Regions from separate parts of the Homo sapiens genome. Here region 1 is linked to region 2. Evidence: promoter capture Hi-C in 16 types of primary human blood cells and fetal thymus (Javierre and others, 2016). All regions are on one chromosome and are shown on one strand. The core of a region is centred on a gene start or on the middle of the fragment in contact, and the rest is flanking DNA. Distances in the headings are between cores, read along the strand shown.

Evidence for each region. The method cuts DNA at HindIII sites, captures the fragments that hold promoters and counts their contacts. A CHiCAGO score of 5 or more calls a contact.
Region 1: a fragment that was not itself captured here is called in contact with the fragment with the promoter of COL18A1 in region 2 in 4 of 17 cell types (endothelial precursors, erythroblasts, megakaryocytes and 1 more); the score reaches 7.1 in endothelial precursors.

The regions. Positions count from the first base shown.
Region 1 is chr21:45,140,462-45,143,195 of GRCh38, reverse strand. All of the region lies in intron 2 of ADARB1 (adenosine deaminase RNA specific B1), which reads right to left. Among named protein-coding and RNA genes, the nearest start is that of ADARB1, 67 kb to the right of the region's middle. The HindIII fragment of the contact is 1,078 bases long and covers 856-1,933 here.
Region 2 is chr21:45,403,800-45,406,499 of GRCh38, reverse strand. COL18A1 (collagen type XVIII alpha 1 chain) reads right to left here and starts at 1,335. Exons shown (of 42, transcript NM_001379500.1): 1 at 1,259-1,335; 2 at 1,027-1,121. The coding sequence starts at 1,269. BNAT1 (breast cancer associated ESR1 regulating natural antisense transcript 1) reads left to right here and starts at 138. Exons shown (of 2, transcript NR_183526.1): 1 at 138-333; 2 at 2,004-2,694. RefSeq lists an enhancer at 1,480-2,180. The HindIII fragment of the contact is 21,482 bases long and covers 1-2,700 here.

The DNA.
Region 1 (2,734 bases), core at 145-2,644, 260 kb after region 2:
GAGCACAGTGCCAGGAGGTTAGGAGAGGAAGAAGCAGGGAGCCAGGAAGGGCACCTGCCGAAGCAGAGGGCACAGGAAAAGTCGGCTGAGCGATGGCCACCTGCCAATCACTACACATGCATTTGCTCATTTAAACATCATCAAATCTCAGTAAAGGAGACTGAGGTTTCAGAGCAGCAGGCTGGACACGGCTGCTACTTGTTTTACAAGCATCGCAGATGCCATTGGAGCTTTGGCCTTTGTGGGTGGAGGCTGCACAGCTGTGCAGCATGGCCATGGTGTTGGTAAAGTAGTAACCAGCACAGAGTCACTAGCTGGTCCCCCTGGTCAAAGCCCTGCTCCCTCTTCTATTAGCCAAGGGCCGTAGGCAATTTCTTACCTTCTGGGCCCCTCAGATCCCCCTGCAAAACACATGACGGAGCCAGGCCACACCCCTGAGTTCATGGGGGGACCAAGCAAGGACGCCGCTTAGGCCGCAGCAGCTGCACACCCAGTAGGCAGATCCCACACGGCTCCCACCACCTCATGGGGAGCAGCCTGGCAGCCAGCTGGGCTGAGTCACTGCCCAAGGTCACATGGTGGCCATGTGCTAGGATCCACTCCAAATCCAGAGCTCTCCAACCTGGGGACCCACACTCCACCCCGCTACAATGCTGCCCAGTTAAAGAAAAAACACAACTACTTATTTTCTCAATTAAGATTCCTTACAATATTAAGTCAAGTAACATATTTCTTTACATAAACACATTTCTGTTTTCTGAATGAGAATGGTTTCAAACAGAACAGACTAAGTATAACTTTCAGTCTACTTGCAACATTCCTCTACTTCTTCAAACAAATGAATTCAATTAAGCTTTTTCCATTGGCTTTAAAGGTGACTTTACCATGCAACTTAGGGTTAAAAATCAAAGTCTACACTTCTCAAATGAGTATAGCGGGTGTTCGATTTGAAAAACAAAAAGAAGGCAGGAGCCCAAAAAAAGGAGACACTTGAATTGAGCGACCTTAATTAGCTGCAGTAGCATAATGTGGCTTAAAGCAAGCAAGCACCCACAGACAGTGACCAAGGGTGGCTCAGGTAACCCAGGGGTAGACAAGGTGACCCAGAGTGGCCAAGGTGGCCCGGGGGTGGCTAAGGACACCCAGAGGTGGCTACAGTGGCCCAGGGGTGGCTAAGTGACCCACAAACAGCTAAGCTGACCATGAGTGACTAAGGTGAAAGGGTGGGTAAGGTGACCCACAAATGGCTAAGGTGATCCTGGGGTAGCTAAGGTGACTCACTGGTGGCTGAGGTAACCCACAGGTGGCTAAGGTGGCCCTGGGATGGCTAAGGAGACCCTGGGGTGGCTAAGGCGACCCAGGGATGCTAAGGTGATCCTGTGGTAGTTAACATGGCCCAGGCGTGGCTAAGGCGACCCAGGGATGCTAAGGTGACCCTGGGGTGGCTAAGGTGACCCAGGGATGCTAAGGTGATCCTGTGGTGGCTAACATGGCCCAGGGGTGGCTAAGGCGACCCAGGGAGGCTAAGGTGTCCCTGGGGTGGCTGGAGGGACCCACGGGTGGTGAAGGTGGCCCACAGGTAGCTCAGGTGGTACTATGCTAGCAGCAGAGGACAACTCAAACCTAGGGGGACTATCACCCTTGAAGGACAGCTCCATCCCCATTTACAGACTCTGGGAAACTTTTTAAATTCTTATGAGCTCTGAATATAAATTTGATACTAAACTGGAACATACATTGACAGGTATTTCTTTAAAGATTCTTAGGCATTATTTAAAAATAATGCTTTCTATAACTGGCTACTAAAAATAAAACAGAATGGCAATCCTTTGAAATATATTCTGTAAAACCACTACTACATATTTAGATCATGAGAGTATAGGCTAATTTTTTGCATTTTAACATAATTATTACCTATTTGGAATATTAAGCTTAAAACAATAGAATCATAAAATTATGTTACACAAAGACTACACAGCAAAGTCACAACTTTTTTTTTTGAGACAGGGTCTCGCTCTGTCGCCCAGGCTGGAGTGCATTGGCACAATCTTGGCTCATTGCCACCCGTCTCCTGGGATCAAGCAATTCTCCCACCTCAGCCTCTCGAGTAGCTGGGACTACAGGCATGTGCCACCATGCCTGGCTAATTTATTTTTACTTTTATTTTTTGTACAGACAGGGGTTCACCATGTTACCCAGACTGGTCTCAAACTCCTGGGCTTAAGCAATCCTCCTGTCTCAGCCTCCCAAAGTTCTAGGATTATAGGCTTGAGCACCACACCTGGCCACAATTTTTAGAATTGCAAAAGATGTACAAAACTTCTCATTCCATAACACAATCAGCCCCTTCCGCAGACTTAATTTATTATATCAAATTTATAAATTACTTGATAAAATTTTATTTACAATTCAGATCACTCACTGAATTAAACCAGCTATAAGTATTCCATCTCATTGCTTCACAGGTCCTCTAAATGGTAAAAATGAAGCCAGGGAACAGAAAGCTTTCTGAAGGAAACTGGCTTCTGGACGCACACTGGAATGCACACACACATACACTCACGCACACACACACAGATGGTGTAAAGACAAGAGGTTTGTCCTGGTGGCCACCGCTCAGAACGCCACTGAGCCTCCTCCACTGAGTCTTAGAAGCGGCCCTACAGCACCATCTGCTGTTCTGCAGAGGTCACTCAACGCTCCACACCACAGCAACCAAGCCAGGAGCCACCCA
Region 2 (2,700 bases), core at 86-2,585:
CAGGTGTTTTCAATACATCTACTTATAAGCTAGCTACTTTTTTGAAAGGTCTATGCTACTATTTAACCTGGTGACTAAGTCGATTGGAAACAATGAAACAAATTATTACAGGAATCCAGACGACATCCCTCCCTCCCCCTTTCCTGCTTCCTCACCCGCTGTAGCAAGCAGGTGTGGAGTCGAGTCGGAGGCAGGCGCTGGCTGCGTGGACCCCCGGGTGGGATTCCACCCGCGACAAGGCACCCAGGCCCTTTGGGCGGGGCTCCCCTGGGGTCCGCGTCCCCGCCGCCTCCCCCGGGCCTCTGCTGGGCTGGCTGGAGGCAGGAGGCCCCGGTTAGCAGGTGGTGGGGAACTGGGTCCCGGGGTTGGAGGCAGGAAGGTCCCCACGGGCCCCGCGCACCGTTTGCCGCGCACGGGAAGCGGCGAGGCCGGCGGGGCAGCGGCTTCTGGGCATTGTTCTCGGACCGCGCGGCGCTCGGTTGGCATCAAAGGGGACCGCGCAACCCGACACCACGGCGGGCGCGGGGACAGAGGCCTGAGGGCGGCGGGGACAGAGGCGCACAAGGCCCGGCCCGCGGCGAGGAGCCTCAACAGGTTGGAAACGCGGAGACGACGCCCCGCGCTCCGCCGCCTTCCGCCCGCGGTCAGTCCCGGGACCCGGCGCTGCGGGGACGAGGCCGTGACGGCGACAGAGGCCGCGTCTCCCGAGACCCCGCGGCCCCGCCCCGAGCCCTCCCGGCACCGACGACCCCGCCGGCCGCGGAGGTTCGGTCCCCGCGCGGGGACTCCGGCCGCTCGCACCGCGCACCCCTCCCGGCCCGGACCCCGCGGGGAGAATGAATGGGCGGGACTCCGGCCACCCCGCCCCGCTCCGTCCGGCTCCGGCGCCTCCTGCGCGCGTGGGCAGGGCCGGGGCTGAACCCAGAGCGGCCGGGGCGGGGGTGAGGGAGCCGGGCGGGGACCCCAGCCAGGGCGGCGAGGCCGGCGGGCACCGGCGCGAACCTTCCCGTCCCGCCCGGGTCTTACCTGGCTCCGCGGAGGCCGCGCGGACCCCGAGCAGCAGGACCAGGGGCGCGAGCACGTCCAGGAGGCGCCGCCGCCGCGGCCATGGCCAGGGGCACCTGCGCGGGACAGGCACGGGTCAGACCCCGCAGGACCCCCGCGACCCCCGCAGGACCCGGCCGAGCCCCGCGACCCCCGCGACCCCCGCAGCCGCATCTTGGCGTCCCCCAACCCCTGCCCGCAGCCCCGGCCTCACCTCGGCGCCATGCTCTCCCCAGGACCGTCAGCGCCGCGGGATGCTGCCTCCTCCGCCGCGGTGCACCCGCTCGGACCGCCGCGCTGCAGCCGCCGCCGCTGGGAGGCCGGGCAGGGGGCGGGCAGGGGCCGGGCAGGGGCCGGGCAGGGGGCGGGGCGGGCGCGGGCAGGGGGCGGGCGCGGGGCGGGGCCGGGCAGGGGCCGGGCAGGGGGCGGAGCGACGAGCAGGGCAAGGCCCGGGGAGGGGAGAGGGGGGCGGGCGCCGCAGCGGACCTGCGGCTGCGAGGACGGGGCGGGCCGGGACCCGGGGGCGGCGGGGACGGGCGAGGACGGACGGGGACACGTCCCGCCCCGAGGGAACCGCCCGAGGCTGCGACCCAGCACAGGGCCCGGGGGCTGCCCCGCGAGGAAGCCCAGGTTTATGCGGAAGGTGAACACCGCTGCCCGCCGGGCTACGACCCCAGCCCCTGAGTCCGGTGGGGCAGCGGGAAGGGGGGAGATTTGAATAGAGTCACCGCGGGGGGGACGGGACGGAGGAGGAAGCCGGCACCTCCGGCCCGCAAGGCCCCTGCAGGGTCCTGCCCCGGCTGCACGGAGGGACGGACGCGAGACAGGAGGGGCGTGCGAGGGCCAGATCTGTCCCCAGGTCCCCCTGTTCCCAGGGCGCGGCCCAGCAGAGCCTCTTCCTCCCCAGTTCCCAGGCTCCTCCTCCCTCCCAGGTGAAAACCCTGTTTCTATTTCTTCAGGGCCAGCATCCTGAGCCCCACCTGCAGGCCCTGGGCGCTTTCCTCCTGGCAGCTGTGCCCCCACCCGACCGGACCGCTCCCTGCAACCAGAGAGCCCTCACACCAGCAACACCCCCCAGCCTGCTCCCTCCTCGTGTGCGCGAAACTCATGGCACTGGCTTGACGGCTTTCTCTGAAACCCTCTGATTCCGCCTGGCCCATCCACACTGTCCCTTCCCGGCCAGGGCTCATCTCCTATGCCTGGACCAAACAGCGTAGTCTCCAGTCTCCCTGATCTCCCCACACGTGGCCCCACCCATCCTCTGAAGCAGCCCCAGGAGGCAGCAGTGACTTCACACTTCTAGTGCCCGGCCCTCCCGGCCCTCCTCTCTGGGCTTGCTTGCCAGGGTCCTCCCAACCTGACTGCTGCCTCCCACCTCCTCTCCGCCCCTGGAGCTCTCCAGCCGCAGCCGCGGGGCCTGCTTGGGATTCTCCTCTGCTGGCATCATCCCTGCCTGCCTCAGCCTTCCCAGGCCCAATCCTGCCCGATCTCACCTCTTCCCGCCCAGCCACCTGGTCGGGTCCCGACCAGCATCTGCCTTCAAACCTGGAGTCCTTCCCTGAGTGCTTGCGGTGCACTGTGAGGAAGGAAATCAATGTAAAGGATTATGACCCACATTTTTTAAAAATAAAAAGATTAAGGAGAACAGCATAGAGT